3 separate regions of the Homo sapiens genome follow, and regions 2 and 3 are each linked to region 1. Evidence: promoter capture Hi-C in 16 types of primary human blood cells and fetal thymus (Javierre and others, 2016). All regions are on one chromosome and are shown on one strand. The core of a region is centred on a gene start or on the middle of the fragment in contact, and the rest is flanking DNA. Distances in the headings are between cores, read along the strand shown.

Region 1 (3,853 bases), core at 619-3,118:
TCGATACCAGCCTGGCCAGCATAGTGAAAACCCGTCTCTACTAAAAATACAAAAATTAGGGCCAGGCGCGGTGGCTCATGCCTGTAATCTCAGCACTTTGGGAGGCTGAGGCGGGCGGATCACGAGGTCAAGAGTTTGAGACCAACCTGGCCAACATGGTGAAACCCCGTCTCTCCTAAAAATACAAAAAGTAGCCGGGTGTGGTGGTGGGCACCTGTAATCCCAGCTGCTCGGGAGGCTGGGGCAGGAGATTCGCTTGAACCCGGGAGGCGGAGGTTGCAGTGAGCCGAGATCGCACCACTGCACTCCACCCTGGGCGACCTGGCAAGGCTCCGTCTCAAAAAAAAAAAAAAAAAAAGAAAAAGAAAATACCGGGCGTGGTGGCAGACGCCTGTAGTCCCAGCTACGCGGGAAGCTGAGTCACGAGAATCGCTTGAACCCGGATGGCGGAGTTTGCAATGAACCGACATCGTGCAACTGCGCTCCGGCCTGGGCGCCAAAGCGATACTCGGTCTCAAAAAGAAAAAAAAGAAAACAGGAGAATAATGAAATTTTACTTATTTATTTTATTTATTTTTTATTTTTTTGAGACCGAGTCTCGCTCTGTCACCCAGGCTGGAGTGCCCTGGCGCAATCTCGGCTCACTGCAACCTCTGCCTCCCGGGTTCAAGCGATTCTCCTGCCTCAGCCTCCCGAGTAGCTGGGACTACAGGCGCCTGCAACCACGCCCGGCTCATTTTTGTATGTTTAGTAGAGACGGGGTTTCACTATGTTGCCCGGGCTGGTCTCGAATTCCTGAGCTCAAGTGATCCTCCCGCCGCTGCTTTCCAGCGTGCTGGGATTACAGGCGTGAGCCACCGCGCTCGGCCAAAAGTTTTAAATTTCAGTAAGTTCCAATTTATCAACTTTTTCCCTGTATAGATTGGTCTTTTGGTGTCGTCTAAAAACTATTTGCCTGGCCCTAGGTCCTGAGGATTTTTTTTAACTTTTTTTTTCCCCATAAGTGATTTATTGTTTTACATTTAAATCTATGATTCATTTTGAGTAAATTTTGTATAAGGTGAGAGGTTTAGGTTGAGGTTCTTTGGGTCTATATTCGTCCAATTGCTCCAGCATCATTTGTTGAAACGGCTCCTGATTCCATTTTTGTACCTTTCCCCCGTTCATTTCCCCTTAGAGCAGTGGGAATGTTTTTTTGTTAGTGATGATGTCATGCCTTGTGCAAAATCTGTATTAGCATCTCACAACATAAGATTTGGCTCTATTCTAACGGCATTTTCCACCACTCGATGTCCACCGTAATACTTGGCTCTCGAAGAATCACTGGGCTGGCTCCCTCACTTCATGCAGGTCTATTCTATTATCACTTACTCAGAGATTTCTCTGGCCTTTTCTTCACAGCACTTACAAAATGCGATCTATTACATATTAATTTGCTTATTTGCTTCTTGTTTTCCTATACTCCCATCCCTCCCAGAAGCTCCAAGAGAGCATACTGTTTTATCCCTAGGGCCTAGAATAATGCGTCCACGTAGTAGGTACTCAAAATTTTTTGCTTGACAGGCTAGAAAAGGTGAATAAACACAAAGCGGGAGCGAAAAGTCTACTTCTAGGTCAGGCACTCTTTGGACTTCACGCAACGTGTGAGCGCCACCTCTCGGGAAGCCAATTTGCTCGCGAACGAAGGAAGTGAGTCAGAGAACCCGGGGGTGGAGAGAAGAAAGCAAGCAGCTAACCGGAAAGGTCTGAAAAAGCTAGCGCCGGAAGTTAAACTGCAGAAAGTTGTTCCCTAGAATGACTGCCTACTCCCAAGAGGAAGCGTGGGCGAGCGGTGTTCTGCAAAATGGGCTCTCCGGCAGCGGATCTGCGCAGAAGCGTTCCGTGCGTGCAAGTGCTGCGAACCACGTGGGTCCCGGGCGCGTTTCGGGTGCTGGCGGCTGCAGCCGGAGTTCAAACCTAAGCAGCTGGAAGGGTAAGAGGTGTTCGGGATCCTGAGAGGAAAAAGAAAGGAGTGTAGTCGCGGGAGTGGGTTAGGTGAGGAGTTAGTGAAGAGATGAGTTCAGCTCTAAGAGGCGGCGAGGAGGATCGGATGGGAGGAGGGGCAGGGAGCGCCTGTGGACAAGTGCAGACCGGTCGGCGCACGTCCCACGCCACGTGGACTCGCCTTTGTCGGTGGCCGCCTTTCTCGTCAGGCCGCGACGACAGGGCTGTGCCTTATTTGTGTCTGTCGAGAGCAGTGCCGGGCACGGAGTTGGCGCTCTGTAAGTGCTTGCTGAATAAATGACGGGTGTGTGTGTCATTCATTCAGCAAGCACTGAGTGCTTACTGTTGTGTCACCGGGACCGATGTGGAGGGACATTTTTAGGGTGTATTTCTGGCGCTTTAGTCCTGTTTTCTCCTGGACAATTTATGCTTGCCCCGCACCCCATCGTGCGATTCTCCGCAGTCTTTGGGCTTTGTCTCTCTCTCTTTTTTTTTTTTTGGAAGTTGCAGAATGGTGATAAATGATTTTCTTTGCTCCTATTGACTGCTAGGCCCTGTGGCTAGGTACCATAGAGTCTCTACACAGGACTAAGTCAGCCTGGTGTGCAGGGGAGGCAGACACACAAACAGAAAATTGGACTACAGTGCTAAGATGCTGTAAGAAGAGGTTAACTAAAGGACAGGAAGATGGGGCCAAGAGATGGTGCTACTGTCTACTTTAGGGATCGTCTTTCAAGGCGAGGGGCCTCCTATCTCAAGCTGTGATACAGGGTAGGTCATGAGCGCAGTCTTCTGTAAAATGAGGGATCTGGACGGAATAGTTACTCTCTAGGCTTCCTTTCAGTATGATGTCCCGTATCAGATATTCCTAATGTCTGTAGTTCTCCCACACCCCACCGTTTATTGGCTAGTCAAAATATTCTTTGCATTGTAAAGTGTAGCATAACATTACAAGAATGGATTAATGGGTTGGGAATGCTGGGTTTTGGCCTTCATTCTGGTGCTGTGGTCCTGTTTCCTCATTTGTAAAATGAAGGGGGTTGTAAAGATATATTCTCTAAAACCCCTAATGCTATGGCTGTGGCATTAAGTCAAACTATTATTTCTTACTGCTTTGTACCGGACATCACTTTCACATTAGTAAAACTTTTCATCAGTGTAGTTTCTCCCAAGCTTGATTATTGAGAAAGATAGTGCCTTGTTTTTAACATCCTGTATCCTAGTTCCACCGCAGTGTTTGGTACACAGTAGATGTTTAAAAGAAGCTTATTAAATCAAATGGTGGCCAGGCTCATGGGGCTCACGCCTTTAATCCCAGCACTTTGGGAGGCTGAGGTGGGCAGATTACTTGAGGTCAGGAGTTGGAGACCAGCCTGGCCAACATGGTGAAACCCCATCTCTAGTAAAAAAAAATACAGAAATTAGCTGGGTGTGGTGGCACGCACCTGTAGTCCCAGCTATTTAGGAGGTTGAGGTAGGAGAATTGCTTGCCTGGGAAGTGGAGGTTGCAGTGAGCCAAGGTCGCACCACTGCACTCCATCCTGGGCGAAAGAGCAAGACTCCATACCAAAAAAAAAAAAAAAAATCAAATGGGGCTGGGTGTGGTGGCTCATGGCCATAATCCCAGCACTTTGGTAGGCTGAGGTGGGCAGATCACTTGAGGACAAGAGTTCGAGACCAGCGTGGGCAACATAGCGAAACCCCATCTCTAAAAAAACCCCACAAAAACCAAAACAAATGAAAATAAAATAAATCAAATGGGATAGAAATTATAGTCCTTGCTTTTGGATCCTTTCCCACATTGACATATTAGTTCATAGATCAGGGGACTGGGGAGGAATTGGGTTTTTACCAGAGGGAGACCTGGAGC
Region 2 (3,853 bases), core at 997-3,496, 310 kb before region 1:
ATGGGGGTGGGAGCCACAGGGTGGGGACCATGCAGGAGTGCCCTGCAGGTCCTAGGAAGGTGAAGGAACACAGGCCCCGTTCACCTGGAGAGAAACAGGGCACCATCCTGTCTATTAACACCGAAGCCTGGAAGGAGAGGTGGGAGCGATGTCCCAGTTCATCAGGGACTGGAGCCCGAGGATTCCTCCTTCATGCGTGCTGAGGGCTACTGTGGCCAGCACCGTGCCGGGCACGTCGTGTATGTTGGCATGACATGTCAGCATGGTGGGCATCAGCAGCCCATTCACAGGTGAGAGAGTGGACACAGAGCCAGGCACGGAGGGCACAGTTGTCATGGCCAGTGAGGGAACGATGAGCTTGGAACTCATGTCTAACAAGAAAGCTTTGATTGCATTGGACTCCAGGCCACCTCCTCAGGAGTTTGGACCCTGAGCCTGAGAGAAGACCAGGCTGACGGCAGGCCAAGCAGGAGCAGCTCTGAATGGATCTCTGGTGTCCCTGGGAGGAAGGAGACCACGTTTCAGCCTCCCAGCGTCCTTGGTCCTGCCTTCTGCTCTGTATCAGAGGGCACTGCTGCAGGGCAGGGCCAGTTCTCTTCTAGCTCCCGAGTCATTCCCGAGGGCCATTCCTGCCCACCCCCTCTGGGGCAACAGGCTGTGGGACCTACACCTGCTCCAGGCAGAGCTATTTCCTGCCCAGTCTGGCCAGCTCTGAGGGCAGCACGGAGTCTCCCAAGGCTCCAGATCCAGGCTGGGGCATCCCCAGGGAACACGAGAGACACTGGTTCCCCCATAGATGCCTGGTTACCCACAGGAGAGCAGAGGGCTGACCTGGAGAGGGTGGCCTCAACCTCACAGTGCCCAGGGACAATTCTTAGGCCTCCCAGGACAGATGCTCCCCTTGGGCAATGGTGGTGCCAAGTGAAAGGAAGATAAGAAGTCAGGAGGAGTGGTGGCTGCTCCCATCTGGCCAAGGTCATGCCATTAGTTGGCTACATTTGCAGGCACAGGCTGGCCTGATTAACCAGGTAGGGCTTGGGGATGGTGAGACTCTGGTGGATTTTGTGTGTCTTGGAGAGAAGGCACCTGTGGAAGGCTGGGTATCCAGACAGCCCTTGGGGACATTCTGGCCCCCTTACACAGAAGTGTTCTAAGGACCCCCTGTAGGTTCCCTGTGGCCAGAAGTACCTTCCCTCTGGTGCCCAAGGACCCAGGCTTTCATGGACCTCCAGGTCCTGAATGTCTTAGGGAATGGGATGAGGCTCAGGCCAAGGAGAAGGTTCTCCTGCTCCTACTCCCTCTCCTGCTCTCCATTCCCTGCGGGGTCTCTCTCCCTTAGACCCAGCTCTGAGAGCTGCCCATCCCTGTCCCAAAGCCTCCCCTGGTGTGGCCTAGAAGACTATGCCAAACAAGGGCTGCAAAACAAAGTCCCCATTCTGAGCCGAAACGGGTAGAACAGTAAACAAGTCAAGCAGGCAGGCTCCATGCAGCCAGGGTGGGGGGATATTTTCCCCCTCTTAGCTGATGTGGAATGTCAAAGAGGCTGAAATAAAAGTTGGAATGACAAGAGGCCAGCCCTAGTGGGGAGTAATTCACAGAGTTACTACCTGGTGGAGGATTAGGAGCGTTGCCTGCCTGCCAAGTGGGTACGATGTGTTATTGTCGAAAACACCACGTGAAATCCTTGTTTGTGTCAGCTCCAGGAGCATGTTGCTAATTTCGAGGAATTAAACTAATGCTTTACGTGGCTCCACAGAATATCAGAGGGGATTACAGCCTGGCAAGTCCTCGCTGACGGCCTTGCTGACCTTTGCCACACAAGGGGACTTTTTTTCTTGTTGCTTTTCCCGTGAAAGGTCCCACACGGAGCTGATACCTGGGCCTGGCACAGCCTGTGGCTCTGAGACCTGGCGTGTGGGGCCCGTCACGCCTGCCCTGACTGTTGGCTGTGGATCGATCTGGGCCCTCTCACAGCCTCTGTTCCCCGTGTGTGTCGGTCTCCTTGAGGGGAGGAGAGGTGTGGATCATCTCGGATAAAGTCCCAGGGGCATTCCCCTCTTAACCTCTGATGCGATCTCTTCCAGTCAGCAAGGCATCCTCACTCCCATAGGAAAGAGATGAAAGGCAGGCCTACTTGTTCAAGCTAGACCTCATTTGTGCTATATGATGCAGGAGAAAAAACTCCATTTCTCAATCCCTTCCACTGGGAGCTTGGAGCCTTGTTCTGCCACTTCCCGTCTCTGTGAACTTGGGCATCACCTCTCTGAGTCTCTGCAGTCTCATCTGTAAAATGGTTGTAGGAAAACTTTTCCTCTTAGAGTCTTTGGCCCACCCCTTCCTACCCTGCTAGCTGAGTGACCTTGGGAAAGTTACTTAGCCTCTCTGTGCCTCAGTCATCATCTGTGGAGTGGAGATAATGGCTATACCCACCTCTGGCTTGTGATGAGCATAGCAAGCTCACAGATGTCAAAGTTCTTACACAGGGGCCTAGCATGTAGGAGATGCTACGTATGCATTCGTTATTATTTTCAAGTGTTTTGCTCCCACTAGATGGTGAGTACATGTTAGTTCTCCTCCCCACAAACCATGGGGTAGGATAGGGAGCCCCTCCTTTCCTCCTTCTCCCTGTTCAGGCCACTCTCTCTGGCTCTTTCAGGAGTGTGAGACCTATGAGAAGTGCTGCCCCAACGTATGTGGGACCAAGAGCTGCGTGGCGGCCCGCTACATGGACGTGAAAGGGAAGAAGGGCCCAGTGGGCATGCCCAAGGAGGCCACATGTGACCACTTCATGTGTCTGCAGCAGGGCTCTGAGTGTGACATCTGGGATGGCCAGCCCGTGTGTAAGTGCAAAGACCGCTGTGAGAAGGAGCCCAGCTTTACCTGCGCCTCGGACGGCCTCACCTACTATAACCGCTGCTACATGGATGCCGAGGCCTGCTCCAAAGGCATCACACTGGCCGTTGTAACCTGCCGCTATCACTTCACCTGGCCCAACACCAGCCCCCCACCACCTGAGACCACCATGCACCCCACCACAGCCTCCCCAGAGACCCCTGAGCTGGACATGGCGGCCCCTGCGCTGCTCAACAACCCTGTGCACCAGTCGGTCACCATGGGTGAGACAGTGAGCTTCCTCTGTGATGTGGTGGGCCGGCCCCGGCCTGAGATCACCTGGGAGAAGCAGTTGGAGGATCGGGAGAATGTGGTCATGCGGCCCAACCATGTGCGTGGCAACGTGGTGGTCACCAACATTGCCCAGCTGGTCATCTATAACGCCCAGCTGCAGGATGCTGGGATCTACACCTGCACGGCCCGGAACGTGGCTGGGGTCCTGAGGGCTGATTTCCCGCTGTCGGTGGTCAGGGGTCATCAGGCTGCAGCCACCTCAGAGAGCAGCCCCAATGGCACGGCTTTCCCGGCGGCCGAGTGCCTGAAGCCCCCAGACAGTGAGGACTGTGGCGAAGAGCAGACCCGCTGGCACTTCGATGCCCAGGCCAACAACTGCCTGACCTTCACCTTCGGCCACTGCCACCGTAACCTCAACCACTTTGAGACCTATGAGGCCTGCATGCTGGCCTGCATGAGCGGGCCGCTGGCCGCGTGCAGCCTGCCCGCCCTGCAGGGGCCCTGCAAAGCCTACGCGCCTCGCTGGGCTTACAACAGCCAGACGGGCCAGTGCCAGTCCTTTGTCTATGGTGGCTGCGAGGGCAATGGCAACAACTTTGAGAGCCGTGAGGCCTGTGAGGAGTCGTGCCCCTTCCCCAGGGGGAACCAGCGCTGTCGGGCCTGCAAGCCTCGGCAGAAGCTCGTTACCAGCTTCTGTCGCAGCGACTTTGTCATCCTGGGCCGAGTC
Region 3 (3,853 bases), core at 433-2,932, 280 kb before region 1:
CACAAGGGGATGGATAGCTTATCACTGCTCCATAGTGTCTGGAACCTCAGCTGGAAAGGCTCAAATGCTCAAGTATCATCTGAAGCAGGTCTAACAGAACTTCCTCCAGTGATGGGAATATGCCATATCCGTGCTGTCAAATATAATAGCCACATGCGGCTCTTGAGCACTTGAAATGTGGCCAGTGTGACTGAGGAACTGAATTTTTACTTTAATTTAGTTTTAATGAAATTTAGATTTAAATAATCACATGTGGACAGCAGCTTCTGAATTGGACAGCATGGACCTGGAAGCTTTTTCAAAGCACATGTCTAGCACCTGGGCTGCAGTGACTCAAGGGCTGGGCTTAGTTGGCACTGTTGTTTGGAGCGTTTCCACATGGCCTCTGAATTTCCCCTGTGGTTTGGGCTTCTTACAGCGTGGCAGTTGAGAGGAAGCAGAGCAGTTTCTGGAGAGTGAACTTTTTAAAAATTAAAACCATTTTTTTCAAGTTTTTTCTAGAGATAGGGTCTTGCTGTGTTGCCCAGGCTGGTCTCAAACTCCTGGCCTCAAACAATCCTCCTGCCTTGGCCTCCCAAAGCAGTGGGATTACAGGCATGAGCTACCATGCCTGGCCACCATGGAAGCTGCCACCATGGAAGCTGCCACCAAGGAAGCTGCATGGCCTTTTATGACCCAGTCTCATAAGTCACAATGCACCACTTCCATTACACCCTAATGGTCAAAGTAACCACCAGCCAGATTCAAGGGGAGGGGACATAACCACCACCTCTCATGGAGGAGTGTCAAAGAATTTGAGGCCATTTTTAAAAATCACCACTGGGTCACTTCTCTCTTCTTCCTGCCTTGAACATGGATCTCATGGCAGGAGCTGCAGCAGCTCCTACTGAATAAACCATGAATAAAACGCAAGTTAATCACAGGGACAGGGGTTCTCACCAATGCTAGTCACTGCCTAGGTCTGGTCCACTTTTTAACCGACATTAAGTGTTCCATGACTTGCAGCTGAAGTATTTCCAGCAAAAACACTAATTTTACATCTTTTAAGGAAACCTGAACTTGATTTTCAAAAAAGCCAAAATAAATTTTTCCTCTAATCTAAAATATCAGGGCTTCTTTCTCATTATAAAACCTGGAAATGCTCATTATAGCAAATTTGGAACACATAGAAATAAAGAAGAAAATAGCAATCATCTTTAATCTCTCCATGCAGTGCTAACCATCTTGCTCCATTTCTTTCTGAATGAGTTTCTATCACACACGCAATTTTCTATCCTGCAGTTCACTTAACATTACATTTTTCCTATTTTCTCCTGACATTAAGCATTTGTCACAATCATCATTTTTAATGACTGCATATTATATTCTACTCTATGGATTTAGAATAATTTATTTAACCATCGCTGGGCATCTAAGTTGTTGAAAATGTTTCTGTATTAAAAACAAACATATTTAACAGGCATTTTTATATGTAAATCTTTAGCTACCTCTCTATTTCCCTGAGCTAGATTCTATAAGCAAACTTAGCGAGTGGAAGAGAAGGAATATTTTTTAAGGCTGGTAACATAATGACAATCCACCTTCCAGAGAGATTGTACTTTTTTACCTTCCCAGAGGATACGCACTGCAAAATCACTACATTTTTAGCCAGCGTTGCCTACTAAAAAATTTTTTTCTATCCTTGGCTAATTTGGTAGGTAAAATGATATCTGTTGTTTAATTTTTATTTCTTTGATTACATGTAGGATGAATAGAGTTTGACATGTTTGTCAGCTCGTTGTACTACTGTTTTTATAAATTTTTTATCTATGCCTTTTCTCCATGTTTCTCTTAGAGGTCTTTGTGTTTTGCTTCAATTTGTATGAGTATCTTGCATATTGTGTACAGATACGTGGCTGAAGAGGATCCTGGTCATAAACCTCACTCTAGAACTTGCCCAAACATTTTAAACATGTGATTTTGATGCCTAGAACCTTGCTTTTCAATCTACTGTTTCACTTTATAAGGTCCTGACTAACTCCTGGGTTATCCATAAATGCTTAAAAAAAAAAAAAAAGCAAGCCAGGTACAGTGGTACCTATAAGCCTAGCACTTTGGGAGGCTGAGATGGGAGAGAGGATCATTTGAGGCCATGAGGTTGAGACCAGCCTGGGCAACATAGCGAGACCCCTGTCTCTACAAAAAAAATAAAAATATTAGTAGGGTGTAGTGGCAAGCACCCGTAGTCCCAGCTACTAAGGAGGTTTGAGGTGGGAGTATCCCTTGAGCCCAGGAGTTCCAAGCGGCAAGTGATCATTCCATAGCACTCCAGCCTGGGTGACAGAGCAAGACCTTTTCTCAAAAACAAACAAACAAACAAAAACAGTTCTAATCATTTTTACTTAGGCCTCTGTCTTCTTGACCTTTCTGTCACATTTCACACTGTTTACTAATAACTACTTCAAATATTTCCTTTTGACTTTTAAGACTTTGCCCATTGTATTAACATTGGATATCCTAACATGGCCCCCACTTCCTATCTCAGCTGCAGTGGAGCAGAGAAGAAAAATTATGAATTCAAAATTAGAGAATTTGTGTTTGGGTCTTGCCACCTGGTATTAGTTGGGTATGGCTACTCTGAGTCTCAGCCCTCATCTTATAAATAATTAGAAGCAATAATTACCCTCAGAGTTGTGTGAGAATCAATTGAGGTGACACCTGTGAAAACGCTCTATGAACCGTCAAGCCCCCCATAAATGTGAATATTTTCTTCCTTCCTCTCCCCCTCCCTCTTCCCCTCCTTCCCTACTTTCTCCTCCTCCTCTCCTCCTTCTCTTCCTTCTCTGCTTCTTACATCTGGCAGAAATTCAAGTACCATTTGATTCAGCTCAAGTAAAAATACATGTGAAATTGCTTTTAAACTACAAACAAGTATTATTAACACTCTCTTCTGTCAGATACAGTGTTGCCAACTCAGTCCTTTTCACCTTCAAAAAACCTCTCAGAATCCCATGGCTTGATGTTTTATATTATTATTTAATTATTAGTTTATTTAGCCTTCCGTGTGTTTATGTCCTAGCCTTTGTTGGATTCCAAGCTTTTTAAGAGCAGAAAGCATGTACCTTTACACGAGCTTTATAGTGCCTTGCAGTCAATCAGTATTGACTGATGGCTTTGCTAGGTCGCTGCTTAATCCAATGAAAGAACACAGAATATTTGAGGAAGGGTAAGTGGCTCAGAGTGGCTGCTGTGGATGGTTCAGAGGTGAGAATCTAGAGAGGAGGCTGGTTGGTAGGCAGAGGCCAGATTACCAAGGGAGGAAATCTGGAATTTTGCCTTTAACAGACGGGAAGATGTTGGGTGATTTTTCAGTTGGGAAATGACATTATTGGAATTCTGTTTGGAGCACATTTTATTTATCTCTAAATGCCCCAGAGCATAGTACATTACTTGATACTTAGGAATTGCCCTGCCAATGTGTGTTCAATTGCTAGACGTAGTTTTATCACCCAATGGAATATTCTTCAATTGTTTGGTTGTTCTGAAGAAGAAATACTTACTGTCTTTTAAGGAAGATACAGACCCCACCTGGAGACCAATACTTCTATCCACTTGGGAACAAAAGGAAAAGTTTTGGCCGGGCGCGGTGGCTCAGGCCTGTCATCCCAACAATTTGGGAGCCTGAGGTGGATGAATCACTTGAGGCCAGGAGTTTGAGACCAGCCTGGCCAAGATGGTAAAATCCCATCTCTACTAAAAATACAAAAAGTAGCCAGCTGTTGTGGTGCGTGCCTGTAGTTCCAGCTACTTGGGAGGCTGAGGCATGAGAATTGCTTGAACCCAGGAGATGGAGGTTGCAGAGAGCCGAGATCAT

Evidence for each region. Contacts are between HindIII fragments. The CHiCAGO score rates a contact against its expected background, and 5 or more counts as called.
Region 2: a fragment that was not itself captured here is called in contact with the fragment with the promoter of NME1 in region 1 in 1 of 17 cell types (neutrophils); the score reaches 7.5 in neutrophils.
Region 3: a fragment that was not itself captured here is called in contact with the fragment with the promoter of NME1 in region 1 in 8 of 17 cell types (monocytes, activated CD4 T cells, naive B cells and 5 more); the score reaches 8.6 in monocytes.

What each region holds. Positions count from the first base shown.
Region 1 is chr17:51,151,691-51,155,543 of GRCh38, forward strand. NME1 (NME/NM23 nucleoside diphosphate kinase 1) reads left to right here and starts at 1,869. Exons shown (of 5, transcript NM_000269.3): 1 at 1,869-1,972. NME1-NME2 (NME1-NME2 readthrough) reads left to right here and starts at 1,869. Exons shown (of 9, transcript NR_037149.2): 1 at 1,869-1,972; 2 at 2,535-2,754. RefSeq lists enhancers at 1,182-2,381, 1,405-1,936, 1,720-2,139, 3,536-3,853. The HindIII fragment of the contact is 18,411 bases long and covers 1-3,154 here.
Region 2 is chr17:50,836,843-50,840,695 of GRCh38, forward strand. It overlaps WFIKKN2 (WAP, follistatin/kazal, immunoglobulin, kunitz and netrin domain containing 2), which reads left to right. Exons shown (of 2, transcript NM_175575.6): 2 at 2,657-3,853. Among named protein-coding and RNA genes, the nearest start is that of WFIKKN2, 3.2 kb to the left of the region's middle. The HindIII fragment of the contact is 3,731 bases long and covers 382-3,853 here.
Region 3 is chr17:50,872,607-50,876,459 of GRCh38, forward strand. No RefSeq gene overlaps it. Among named protein-coding and RNA genes, the nearest start is that of TOB1-AS1, 7.9 kb to the left of the region's middle. The HindIII fragment of the contact is 2,783 bases long and covers 292-3,074 here.